2 separate regions of the Homo sapiens genome follow, and region 2 is linked to region 1. The links are contacts of gene promoters, found by promoter capture Hi-C in human tissues and cell types (Jung and others, 2019). All regions are on one chromosome and are shown on one strand. The core of a region is centred on a gene start or on the middle of the fragment in contact, and the rest is flanking DNA. Distances in the headings are between cores, read along the strand shown. Region 1 holds the start of INF2 (inverted formin 2). Region 2 holds the start of BRF1 (BRF1 general transcription factor IIIB subunit).

Region 1 (6,874 bases), core at 3,079-5,578:
CAATGTCTACCTCCTGCAGCCAGACACAGACAGGCTGACTCAGGTGCTCTTGGAGTTTGAACTGAGAAATGCAAGAGAAGCTTGCAAAATGCTGAGAGGCTCCACAAGGGGCTGCTGAAGCCCCAGCAGGCAAAGCTGCCAGCTACAGAGCAAAAAGCCAAGGGAGGGGCAGGGATGTTGGAGGAAGGACCTGGCTGGAGGTGACTGGGGGCGGTCGTGTCCTTGTCAGCAAGCATAGAGCAGAACAGCTGCCCAAGGTGCCACAGCTGGAAGGGTGAGTGGGTGGATGGGTGGATGAAAGGGTGGGTGGGTGGGTGGATGGGTGGATGAATGGGTGGGTAGGTGGGGGGATGGGTGGATGAGTGGATGATGGCTGGGTAGGTGGATGGGTGGATGAGTAGGTGGATGGATGTGTTGGTGGATAGGTGGGTGGGTGGATGGATGAATGGATGGGCAGATGGATGGATAAGGGTGGGTGCATGGGTGGATGAATGGGTGAGTAGGTGGGTGGATGGGTGGATGAGTGGATGATGGGTGGGTAGGCCGATGGGTAAGTGGATGGTGGGTGGATGGATGGATGGGTGGGTGGATGGATGAATGAATGGGCAGATGAATGGATGAGGGTGGGTGGGTGAGTGGCAAATGGGTGGGTAAGTGGGGGGATGGGTGCATGAGTGGATGATGGGTGGGTAGGTGGATGGATGGATGGGTAGGTGGGTGGATAGGTGGGTGGGTAGGTGGGTGGGTGGATGGACAAATAGATGGGCAGATGGATGGATGAGGGTGGGTGGATCAGTCGGTGGGTAGGTGGTTAGATGGGTGGATGAGTGGATGATGGGTAGGTGGATGGGTAGATGGATGAAGGGATGGGCAGATGGATGGATGAGTAGATGATAGGTGGGTAGGTGGATGGGTGGATGGGTAGGTGGATGGATGTGTGAGTGGATAGGTGGGTGGGTGGATAGATGAATGGATGGGCAGATGGATGGATAAGGGTAGGTGGATGAATGGGTGGGTAGGTGGGTGGATGGGTGGATGAGTGGATTAAGGGTGAATAGGTGGATGGGTAGGTGTATGGATAAGTGGATGGACAGATGGGTGGGTGGATGGATGAATGGATAGGCAGATGGATGGATGAGGGTGGGTGGGTGAATGGGTGGGTAGGTGGGTGAACAGACGGATGAAGTGTGGGTGTGTGTGGGAATGGATGGATGAATGGGTGAATGGGTACATAGGTGGGCAAGGTGGGTGGACATGGGTGAGCAGGCATGTTTTCACTTACTTCATTCTGTAACAATGTCAGAGATCATCTCAGGGCACCACAGTAGGATGCAAAATAAAATCTCAAAAGGGGAAAAAAGATAAAAAGCATTCTGGGTGCTGAACTGATGAAGGAAATGAACCCATGGCCAGGCTGCTGCTCAGGTGGACCCCAGGAAGCCCTTCTGGGCCTGCAAGTGGCCGCCTGCTGCATGCAGGGCTGTCCTGACTGCACGGCGGCGCCAACATCAGGCTGGGAGGATTTCTCTCAGAACGCCCACACCTGCCTGCCTGTTTCTAGCAGAACTCAAGCTGTCGGTGCCAAGGCCTGCTCTCCCCTCATCCCAATCTTCCAGCAAGAGGCAGAGGCAAGCTCTCCACAGGCCTACAGTGGCAGGGCCACTCTTGCACTCTGTGCCAGTGGCCAGGAACATGTGGCTCCGCCTGGGTGTGTCACAGTACCAGCCTGTACCTGCACGACCCTGTTCTCAGGCATCTGGGTACCTGCAGCTGGGGGCCGGCACTTGTGTACCCGGCTCCGAGGAAGGACCGACACCCAGGAGGGGAGGCTCCAGGCAGGCCATGGCTTCCAGGAAGCAGCTCCGGAAGCCGCAGGCAGTGGCTGCAGGTGGTGTGTTTCTGAGGCCAAATCGGTCCTCTCTTCAACCCCAGGGCCAGGAAGCAAGCTCAGAATAGGGCCAGGATGGAGTCTGGGAGCGCTGGAGGTACAGAGGGTTGAGGGTGAGCCACTGAAGGAGAAGAGGAGGGGGCCTCTGTATGTCTCAGAAAATCAGTGCTCAAGCCGGGTTGAACCCTGCTGCCCCGGGCATGGTGGGTTCAAGCCTGACGGAAAACCCCCTTTCAGTGTCCACATTTCCACCCTCCCAGACCTCTGACCTCGGCCTCCACTCCACACACACACACACACATACACACACACACACACAGACACACACTCTTAATCAGGGCCCAAAGCCCTCCTCTGCACTCCCTGCCGACCCCAGGGACTTCTCCAACCTCTCTCCAACTAAATCACATTCACCCCACCTTCTTCACCCTGCTCCGGCCTGTGCTGGCCTCTCTGGACCAGGTGTGCAGCTCGGAAGCACGACTGGGTGCAAGGGAGACAGCCCCAGGCAGGAGCGGCCCTGGGGGCGCTGGGCCTCCCTCCCCCATCAGGGCAGGAAAGGTGGACCCCTCGCCCACACCTGACCTCCTACTCCAGCCTCTGAGTAAGGCTCAGGACTCTGACTTTCCCCCAGGCAGGTGGACAGGGGAGGGGGCTGCAGGTCAAAGCTCACTCCCCACCAACCTCCTCACATTCCTCCATTCACTGGATCAACAAACACACCCACTGCCCAGCACCGCTGCCAGGCATCAGCTCCCAACGCAGATGAGTCAGCCCCGCCCGTGCCCTCCAGGGTGGGGTGGTACCAGGGCAGGCACCAATGTTCGGGTCCAGGAGTGCACCAGGAGACCCAAAGCCCAGCTTGAGGGAGGGCAGGAAGGCCTTCTGCTCTGGAAGGGGCCCTGGAGCCCGGTGTGGAGGGCCGGAGGCCGGCCTTCCAGGTGCATTCCAAGAATTGCAGAGTGCCTGTCTAGGAGCAGCGGCCGCCCAGGTTGGAGGGTGTCCAGTGAGCGCCTGCCTTGGCTGGCTCCTCAGGCACACCCGGGGCTGTGGCCTGCAGCTGCTCCTGCACTGGGGCTGAGCCAGCAAACTTCCGGGGCTGGGGCTGCTGGGCAGGGCAAGGTCCGCACAGGGAGCAGACAGACGCAGCCTGCAATTCGGCGCTTATCCCCACCGGAGCGGAGGCACACCAAAGCCAAAGGACACGCAGCTGGCCTCAAAGCAGAAGCTGCATCGGGGCTGGGAAGCCATTCAGGAGCCCTTTTCTCTCCCCTCGCCCTCACCCTGAGCCCTGGCCGCCACGGCCCACACAGCAGGCCCTCCGGAGAGAGATGTCAGGACTCCGAGTGGAGACACTTTATCCGCATGTTCTTGACCCTCATACAGCCCTTACGGGTACTTATTCTATTTTACAGATGGGGAAACTGAGGCTCCACAGAGTCATATCCGAGCCTGAGGCCGCACAGGGAGTGCTGGCGCCGGTTCTCAGGGCAGGGGTTGTGTCTGCTCTGTCACATGTCACACGGGGGCTCCCCCAGGCCTGCCTTCCTCTGCCCTCCCTCTAGCTGCCAGTGGCCCCCAAACCCCAGGCCTGGTGCGCTGCTTCCTGCAGCTCTGACTGAGGGTCAGACGTCAGAAGGGACTTCCAGAGCTGGGGTCTGGCTCTCATCCAACCAGGCTGGCTTTCAGAGCCGACTATGGGCACGCCCCATGCTGGTCAATGTCGGCGGTGGGGGGATGGGTGCCCCCCTCAATCTAGGAGACAGATGAGGCCGGACAGCAGAGGGGTGGCAGAGAAAACCCACCCCATTGCGACACCTCCGCGGCCCTCATGCAGCTGTCTCCACCAACCGGCGAAGTGCGGCTGCCCAAGACCGCCGAGACCCCATCAAGGGTGGAAGGGGGTCAGGCAGGGCTGCGGAGAGGAGGCCACATGGGTGGCCTGGTTGATGGGTAGGCTCTCTCTCCCCAAAGCCTGGGAAGAGCCATCTCTGCTGAGGGATCCCCGAACGCGGGGACTCCGGATCCGGCTGGCTGGAACGGGAGTCCCGGGCCGGGGCAGAGAGAGGTGAGCGGCGCCTGGGAGGCCAGTCCCACCGGAGGATAGGGGTGTAGGTGGACGGGAGGCGGTGGAGGGCAGGGACGGGGCGGACAGTGGGGGCTGAGGCGGGAGACGGCCCCGATCTGCGCGTCCCACCCCCATCTCCGCCCACCAGGAGCCAGGCCAGCAGGGACCGCGAGGGGGCGGCCAGGTTATTCACGGGAGTGGGGAGACCCCTTAAAGCGCCCTCAGGGACCGGCCACAGTGGGCGGGGCCACCCCCAGCCACCCACCTCCCCCCCCAGGCCCCGCCCCCGGCCCGCGCTCGCTCCCCACGTGGCCGCTGACGGGCGGGGCGGCACCTCCTCTTCCTCCCGCCCGCCCCGCCCGCCCCGCGCCCGCCAGGAGCCACCGTCCGAGCCTTGCGGAGCGCGGCAGTGGGCGCCGGCTGCCCGCAGCCCCTGACCCGGCCCCGGACGGAGCGCCGGCCGCACCACCGCCCTCTGGCCGTTGCCTCACCGGGTAAGTCCTTGGCCTCGGGGTCCGCTTGGAGCTTCAGGGGAAACTGAGTCCGGGAGGAGGCAGGGGCGTGCTTGGGTCCAGGAGCGAGGTTCCGGGCTGCGGCGTGTGTGCCCAGGTGGCGGCGGGCGGTCCGGCGGCGCAGGGTACAGTTCCCGGGCGGGGACCCCAGGGCGCCCCTGGCCCCCCCGGCTCCGCGCGCCCCGCTCGGGACTATGGTCCTCCGCGCCGAGGCACCGCCCGAGCGCGCACTGGCCGCAGAGTGGTGGGCCCAGGGTCGGCCGGGCCTACTCCCAGGGCAGGCGGGATTTCCGCGCCTCGCGGCTGCCACATCCTGACCATGAATCAGCCACAGTTGGGAAAATAAACTTCAACTTCGGGTCCGCCGCCCGGGTGGCACCCCGAGGTGCGCGCCGGCCTGCGGCCCCACCCTGACTGCTTGGCTTCCAGCTGCCCACGCGCAGGTGGGCGCACAGGGAGCCCTTCCCACCCCGCAACCGCTGGCAGGCTTAGGGGAATCAGCCTCCATCACAGCTCTCTGTTCCTTTTGGGTGGGGTAGGATCCAATCCCTGTACGCCCCCAGACCCACCCGTCAACCCTCTAACTGGGGAGTCGCCCCAGGAGTGACCATGACTAAGGAGGGGAAGGCGGGGTGACCAGCTGTGTCCCTGACCGTCCCCAATGCCCCCTGGGGAGCACAGGCGTGGGGGGTGGTCTGTCTGTCTGGGCCTTCTGGGGCTCAAGCTCCCCACCCAGGGCTCCCGCAGCTCAGCTGTGACCACAGCATTACTGCCCACTCCAGCTGGACACACCAGGAGGCAGAGAGGCAGAGACCCTGCCCAGGCAGGGAACCAGGAACCCAGGAACCGGGCCAGAGGTCAGGCACACCCAGAAGGCGCTGGACGTAGGAAATTCCCTTACTGCCAGCCCTGCCCCTCCGTCTGGCACTGGAATGGAGCAGGATACTCGCCCTCTTCCGGCCTCAGTTTCCACATCTGCACTCTGAAGGGTGGGACAGCAGCTCAGGCTGGGACCTGCTCCCTGCCGCCCTGCACTGGGAAGGTGGGGTCCCAGAGCAGTGCCTCAGACCCCGAGGGTGCCACCCAGCCAGGGGCTTTTGGGGTGTCGGTGCTCAGCCCCCAGTGCAGCAAATAGTAGCATTGGGTTCCAGGCCTGGGGTCTGAGACCTCACACTGCTCCCACCCCTACCAGGGCAGCAGCAATTTTCTGTTCTAAAAGCCAGGTTGGTGCAGTGGGCCCTGCCCAGGCCCTGCCCTCCCATCCCTGGACTGTCATGGGCCCTGCAGCCCGGCAAAGGGGATGTCGCTAGTGGGGACGGACCAAGTGGCCAGGTGCGACTGTAGCCTCCACAGCCAGGGCTCCTGAGTTAACCTTCAGGTGAGCGCCCACTTTGTGGAGGAGCTGACGGCTGTCAAGCGAATGACACACACCGCACATGTGGGGACGTGGAAGCTCCTACCTGAAATAGACTCTGCGCCTTCCATCAAAGTGCAGTTACTTCCTGGGTTGGAAAAGTTATGCGGTTCATGCAGGCTGCGGGAGGGGTGGGTGGTGACTGGAAAGTGATGCGGTGCTGCCTGTGGGTGTGGGGCAGGACGCAGCTGGCCCAGCTCTGGACGGGGACAGTGAAGTAAGCTCAAGCCCCTGGCTTTTTGCTGGTGCCTGGAGGTCAAATTTCCCTGTAGTCAGGAATGAGACCTGACTCCCTGCTGCCAGCCCCTCCCCTACCTCCATCTTGCAAACAGCAGGTGTCTGATAGGTGTGTGGTTCATGGCCCAGTGGACACATTACATTGGAGAAGGCACACCCACCTCTGTTTTCAGGATGGTGGACGGGAAGGCCGGGAGGTGGAGGCCACATAGGAGCCAGTCTCTGGAGGGTGGTCCCCAGGGGCCACAGCAGACCCAGGCCTAGTGGACACCTAAAGTCAAAGACTAAGTTCTACCAACGGTGGGAAGGAGAGAGGGCAGGGGCACGGGCTCCCCGTCGCTGGAGGGGTGAGCAGGGTCCAACCACCTGGCCCCCTGTTAGAGAGGCTTCCACTCCTGCCAGCCTCACCCTAGGAGGGAGAGTCCTGCCTGGTCTGCCTCTGAGCACCCAGACAGCCTGGGTCCTGAGCTGGGGTGAGGTCTGCTCACACAGCTGCCCCCCAGCCCAGTGCCGGTATACCCTGGCAACCACCAGGCCAGGAGAGCAGGGCAGACCGGTGGTGCCTGTCCTCTCCTGAGGGGCCGTCCTCTCTCACAGCCCTTTCTAAGCTGTAATTAAATAAGGAACCACAGGGGTTGCTTAGGGTCGCCCCTCTGAGGGCTCATGTCAGTCCCCGAGGGCCAGCCTCAGGCCGGGTCTGTCCACTCACCATTCACGCCAGCCTGGGCAGGGTCTGTGTGCTGGGTGAGTGGGTG
Region 2 (6,874 bases), core at 2,294-4,793, 610 kb after region 1:
TACTCAGAAGGCTGAGGCAGCAGAATCACTTGAACTCGGGAGGCGGAGGGTGCAGTGAGCTCAGATCGCGCCACTGCACTTCAGCGTGGGTGACAGGGTGAGACTCTGTCTCAAAAAAAGAGAAAGAAAGAAAAAATGTCAGCTCTCCCTAAATATATCAAGAGGTTTAATGCAATTCCAATGAAAACCCCACCAGGACTTTTGTACAGGTTGAACATCCCAAATCCAAAAATCTGAGATTATAAATGCTCCAAAACGGCCCGGTGCAGTGGCTCACGCTGGTAAACCCAGCACTTTGGGAGGCTGAGGCAGGTGGATCACGAGGTCAGGAGATCGAAACCATCCCGGCTAACACGGTGAAACCCCGTCTCTACTAAAAATACAAAAAATTAGCCGGGCGTGGTGGCGGTCGCCTGTAGTCCCAGCTACTTGGGAGGCTGAGGCAGGAGAATGGCGTGAAGCCAGGAGGCGGAGCTTGCAGTGAGCCGAGATAGTGCCACTGCACTCCAGCATGGGCAGCAAAGCGAGACTCCGTCTCAAGAAAAAAATAAAATAAAAAATAAATGCTCCAAAACATGAAACTTTTTGAGTATCAACACGATGCTCAAAGGAAATGCTCACTGGAGCATCTCAGATTTCAGATTTTTCGATTAGGGATGCTTAACCAGTAATTATAATGCAGATATTCCAAAATCAGAAAACTCTGGTATCCAAAACACTTCTGGTCCCAAGCATTTCAGGTAAGAATATGTGACCTGCAGAGATGCACAAACTTACTCTAAAATTAAAAAGAGAAAGGGAAATTAATAGCCACAACAACTTTGAAAAGGAAGAACAAAGGTTGAGGGACTCACAATATCTGATTTCAGGACAATATAACAGGTATAGTAAAAAAGCGTGTGATGCTGACAAAGGAAAACGGCACCTGATCAACAGGGCAGGACACAAGGCCCAGAGACAGACCTGCACGGACGGGGCCCAGTGAGCACAGCCGAGGGAGCAAAGGCCTTCAGTCTTTCAACAAACGGTGTTGAAACAAGGGGACCTCCAGATAAACAATGAGCCTCAGCCTACAAAGCACACCTTATACAAAACATAGATGGACCACAGATTTAGGCCAGGTGCGGTGGCTCGCGCCTGTAATCCCAGCACTTTGGGAGGCTGAGGCAGGCGGATCACTTGAGGTCAGGTGTTCAAGACCAGCCTGACGAACAGGGTGAAACCCTGTCTCTACTAAAAATACAAAAATTAGCCAAGTGAGGTGGCGCACGCCTGTAATCCCAGGTACTTGGGAGGCTGAGGCACGAGAATCACTTGAACCTGGGAGGCAGAGGTTGCAGTGAAACGAGATTGTGCCACTGCACTCCAGCCTGGGCCACAGAGCAAGATTCTGTCTCAAAAAAAAAAAAAAAGTTAAAACTTCTGCTTTGAGGCCGTGCGCAGTGGCTCACGCCTGTAATCCCAGCACTTTGGGAGGCCGAGGTAGGCGGATCACGAGGTCAGGAGATCGAGACCATCCTGGCTATCACAGTGAAACCCCGTCTCCACTAAAAAATACAAAAAAAATTAGCCGGGCATGGTAGTGGGCTCCTGTAGTCCCAGCTACTCGGGAGGCTGAGGCAGGAGAATGGCGTGAGCCTGGGAGGCAGAGCTTGCAGTGAGCCGAGATCGAGCCACTGCACTCCAGCCTGGGCAACAGAGCAAGACTCCATCTCAAAAGAAAAAAAACTTCTGCTTTGAAAATCACATATACAACAAAGGGCTTGTAACTACAATCCACAAAGAACTCCCAAAACTCAACAATAAGAAAACAACCCAAATAAAAAATGAGAGTCAGGGTGTGGTGGCTCACGCTGTAATCCCAGCAATTCGGGAGGCCAAGGCTGGAGTATCACTTGAGCCCAGGAGTTTGAGACCAGCCTGGGCAACATAGAGACCTTGTCTCTACTAAAAATAAAATAAAATAAATGATCACAGCATGGTGGCATGCACCTGTAGTCTCAGCTACTCAGGAGGTTGAGGCAGGAGAATTGCCTGAGCCTAGGAGTTCAAGGCTGCAGAGAGCCATGACTGGGCCATTGCACACCAGCCTGGGCCACAGAGTGAGATCCTGTCTCGAGATAAATAAAAAAATAAGACTTGAGCACACATTTCAACAAAGAGGATTCGGGCATGGCAAATAAGCACCCTAATAAGGTTGAACATCACTAGCCAGTAGAGAAATACAGAATACCACTATGATGAGATGCCACACACCTGTTAGAACAACCGAAATAAAAACATCGACAACACCAAGTGCTGGTGAAGATGTGGGGCAACTGGTGAGAATGCATAATGGCACAGCCACATCACAAAACAGTTCATGACAGTTTCCCATAGAGTTACACATACAGCTAAGTTCCCCAGAGAAATGAAAACGTATGTTCACACAGAGAGCTGCAAATGAATCCTTTTAGCAGCTCTATTCACAACCACCTGAAACTGGCCACAGTCCAGCTCCTTCCACAGGCTGGGGTCCATCCCCAGCCCGCAATACTGCCCATCACTGAAACGTCCCCTCCGAGGCCTGCAGCAGCCTGAGTGGCCCTAGGGCATCCGCCCGGTAACCACCAAGGCCAAGGGCAGCAGCAATCGGATTCTAAGTACCAGACATTGCTGAAAACAAAACTGCAGGCACAGAGAGTGACAGTGAGGGGCAGCTTGAGGGGCCTTCTGGGCTCCCCAGGCTCTCTTCAACCCTCCCTGTGCTGGCTGCCCTGGCCCACGCGTGTGTCGAGGAAGTCCACGCACGCCACGGGGGTCCACAGGCGCGCGAAGAAGGTCTACATTCTCGCCAAGGGGATCCACACTCGCGCCCAGACGGCGCAGAACCGCGCGCCCCGACAGAGCGTGCGGTACCGAGGCGCTGGTCCCGGCCGCGCCGTCACCGCCTCCAGCCCGCCTAAGCCGCACCGAGAAATCCGCGCAGCGCCAGCCCGCGGGACTCACCGTCCAGGGACACGAACTGGCCCACGGCCGAGGAGCCGCCGCCGCTGCTCTCCACGAACTGCACCTCGGACACGATGATGTTGTCCTCCAGCACTGAGCCGCAGGCGGTGCACACCGCGTCCCCGCGCGCCGCGTCCAGCTCGATGTCCGTGCCGCCGCAACCGCGGCACACGCGGCCCGTCATGCCGGCGACCGCGCGGGCAGCGCCCGGAGCCTCCCAAGACTCTCAAGCCACCCGAGCCTCCGGAGCAGCCCGCGCCGCCCGCCCAGGCCCAGCCGCCCAGGCCTCGCCGCTCTCGCGAGGCCCCGCTCCAGCCGATTCGCAGCCGCAGATTCGCCGCGCGCGCCCGGGCCGCGCCGCCCGCAACGGCCGCGCCCGCGGGATGGGACAGGCACCGGGACCACGGCGGGGACGCGAGGACTGGAGCCGCGACCTCCCCACTGCGAGCGAGCTGGCCTCCCTTGCGGCGCGCCGGCGTCGGAGGGGCGACCTGCGGGGGCTGGGCTTCGGCGGAACCCGAGCGGGGCCTACCGGTGAGCGCAGCCGAGGACTGGCGCTTGGGGGCGGGGCCACGGCGGTGAGCGCAGCCCGGGACTGGAGTTTGGGGCGGGGCCTCGTCGGTGGGCGACACCGGGGACTAGAGCTAAGGGTGGGGCCTCGCGGTGAGTGCAGCCGGGGACGGGACCCAAGGCTGGCGACGGGACCCAAGGCTGGCGACGCGACCTAAGGCAGTGGGCGGGCCCTTGGCGATGAACGCAGTCGGGGACTAAAGCTGGACGCGGGGCAGAGGAGGGTCCTCCTCGGATAGTGAGCGCGGTCTCCAGCGGCGAGCGAGGCCTGGGGTGAGGACTCAGCCGGATGCGGGGCTGAGGGTGGGGGGCGGGGCCTCCCGTGGAGAGACGGCCTGCGAAGGGAACTGGAGCTGTGGGCGGGGGAAGGGGGCGGAGCCTGGGTCTGGACCCGAACTGTGGGCGGGGCTTGAGGCGAGGGGGCCGAGCGTGGTGGGCGGGGCCTTGGCTCCTGAGGGCGACCTGGGACCCAACCCCGGGCTCTGGGAGTGGTGGGCGGGGCCAGGGCAGCTGCGCTGGGGGGCCTGGCCGCAGAGGTGGAGACACCCGCCAGGGGCCACCCTGCCCCGCCCTCCGCATTTGCGGCGTCCGCCGCTCCGCTCGCCCAGGTTCCAGAGCCTCCCCGTGCGCCCCGCTATTCTCCGTTTTCTGTTCCCCTAAAATTCCCACTTTCTAGCAGTCATTCGTGGCCACCTGTGGTTACCCGTGAGTCACCTCGCTGTGCCCCCTGCCCAGAGCGGGAACCCTGGCTGCGCACGCCCTCAAATATCTGCAGGTGCTGTTCACAATCGCCATAGGGCCGGTGACATACCCAGGAATGAGCCTAAAAAGAAATGCGTAACCAGGCGTAGTGGCTCACGCTTGTAATCCCAGCACTTTGGGAGGCCAAGGCAGGCGGATCACGTAAGGTGAGGAGTTCGAGACCAGCCTGGCCAACATGGCGAAACCCCGTCTCCACTAAAAATACAAAAAAATTAGCCAGGCTTGGTGGTGGGCGCCTGTAATCCCAGCTACTCGCGAGTCTGAGACAGGAGAACCACTTGAACCTGAGAGGTGGAGGTTGCAGTGAGCTGAGATCCCGCCATTGCACTCCAGCCTGGGTGACGGGTGACAAGAGTGAAACTCTGTCTCAAAAAAAAAAAAGAGAAAAAAGGAAATGCGGAAGACCCCACCCTCTTTTTTTTCTTTCTTTTTTTTTTTTTTTTGAGACGGAGTCTCTGCTCTGTTGCCCAGGCTGGAGTGCAGTGGTGAGATATCGGCTCACTGCAACCTCTGCCTCCTGGGTTTAAGCGATTCTCCTCTCTCAGCCTCCCGAGTAGCTGGGATTACAGGTATGCACCACCACACCTGGCTAATTTTGTATTTTTAGTAGAGACGGGGTTTCTCCATGTTGGTCAGGCCAGTCTTGAACTCCCGACCTCAGGTGATCCGCCCACTTCAGCCTCCCAAAGTGCTGGGATTACAGGCATGAGCCACCGTGCATGGCCCTATTTCATTAATTTCTGCTCTCATTTTTGTTAGATCCTTCTTTCCACTTAATTTGGTTCAATGTGTTCCCTTTTTCTAGTTTCTTCATTTTTTAAAAATTGAGATAGTGTCTCATTCTGTCACCCAAGGTGGAGTGCAGTAGCATAATCAAGCCTCACTGCAGACTCTACCTCCTGGGCTCAGGTGATCCTCCCACCTCAGCCTCCCGAGTAGCTGGAACTACAGGCATGTGCCACCACACCCAGATAATATTTTTTGTAGAGATGGGTTTTTGCCTCATTTGCCCAGGCTGGTCTGGAACTCCTGGGCTCAAGTGAGCCACCCGCCTTGTCTTCCCAAAGTGCTGGGATTACAGGCATGAGCCACTGCTCCCCGCCCTGTCCTCCCAAAGTGCTGGGATTACAGGCATGAGCCACTGCTCCCCGCCCTTTCTCTAGTTCTTTTTTTTTTTTGAGATAGAGAACACCCAGGCTGGAGTTCAGTGGTGCCATCTCAGCTCACTGCAACTTCCACCTCCCAGGTTCAAGTGATTCTGTCACTTCAGCCTCCCAAGTAGCTGGAATTACAGGCATGTGCCACCACGCCCAGCTAATTTTTGTATTTTTAGTAGAGATGGGGTTTCACCATGTTGGCTAGGCTGGTCCCAAACTCCTGACCTCAAGTGATCCACCTGTCTTGGTCTCCCAAAGTGTTGAGATTCTACACGTGAGCCAATGCACCCGGCCCCTTTTTCTAGTTTTTGTTTTGTTTTGTTTTTTGAGGTGGAGTCTCGCTCTGTCACCCAGGCTGGAATGCAGTGGTGCGATCTTGGCTCACTGTAACCTCCACCTCCCGGGTTCATGCCATTCTCCTGCCTCAGCCTCCCAAGTAGCTGGGACTACAGGTGCCCACCACCATGCCTGGCTAATTTTTTGTATTTTTAGTAGAGACAGGGTTTCACTGTGTTAGCCAGGATGGTCTTGATCTCCTGACCTCGTGATCCACCTGTCTCGCCCTCCCAAAGTGCTGGGACTATGGGCGTGAGCCATCGCGCCTGGCCTTTTCCTAGTTTTTTAAGGTGAAAGATGAAATCATTGATTTAAGATCTCTTTTCCTTTATAAATAGGCATTTTATTGCTATAATTCTCCCTGTAATTACCACTTTAGCTGAATCCTGCACATTTCAATGTGCTGTGTTTTCATTTTCATTCAGCTCAAGATTGTCTCCACTCTTAATTTCCTCCCGGATCCAAGGGTTATTAGGAAGTGTATTGTTTTGTTTCTAAATGTTGGGGATTTTTCAAATATGTATTATTGATCTCTATGCAAAATGCTCTCTGTCCATGATGACATTTCATCCTTATGGCAACACTAGCTTGCAGACACTGTTGTCTCCATTTTATGGAGGGAGCCCTTGAGGATGTGAGGGGTGACAGCCCCAAATCTCATAGCCAGTAGGTAACAAAGCCAGAATCCAATCTGAGGCCATGTGGCCACTGGATCCTTGCTCTCACCTGACAGACTAGAGGGGTTATTTCGTGTGCTCCCTCACCAAAGCCTGTGAGGTGCCTGCAGGTGCAAGGGGCAGCATGCCTCCCAGGCCACAGCGGTGCAGGACAGTCAGGCAGTACAGGACAGTCAGGCTGTACAGGACAGGATTGGCCAGAGGAGCAGAGGGTGGGGAAGACCACACCCACAACGGTAAGAGGTTTAAAGGGTGTGGTTTCAGCCAGGCTCGGTGGCTCAGGACTGTAATCCCAGCACTTTGGGAGGCTGAGGAGGGCAGATCACGAGGTCAAGAGATCAAGACCGTCCTGGCCAACATGGTGAAACCCATCTTTCCAAAAAA

Evidence for each region. Contacts are between HindIII fragments. The study calls those that stand out against the background at their distance.
Region 2: a contact is called between the fragment with the promoter of BRF1 here and the fragment with the promoter of INF2 in region 1, in 2 of the 25 tissues and cell types used here (IMR-90 fibroblasts and dorsolateral prefrontal cortex).

The regions. Positions count from the first base shown.
Region 1 is chr14:104,685,290-104,692,163 of GRCh38, forward strand. It overlaps INF2 (inverted formin 2), which reads left to right and starts at 4,329. Exons shown (of 23, transcript NM_022489.4): 1 at 4,329-4,450. RefSeq lists enhancers at 2,323-3,310, 3,311-4,300 and silencers at 3,993-4,252, 4,353-4,442, 4,463-4,702, 4,793-4,842. The HindIII fragment of the contact is 30,363 bases long and covers 1-6,874 here.
Region 2 is chr14:105,297,458-105,304,331 of GRCh38, forward strand. It overlaps BRF1 (BRF1 general transcription factor IIIB subunit), which reads right to left and starts at 3,544. Exons shown (of 18, transcript NM_001519.4): 1 at 2,989-3,544. The coding sequence starts at 3,172. It also overlaps the pseudogene LOC124903409 and a transcript of PACS2 not described here. RefSeq lists an enhancer at 2,286-2,365 and silencers at 3,216-3,625, 3,856-4,225. The HindIII fragment of the contact is 16,575 bases long and covers 1-6,874 here.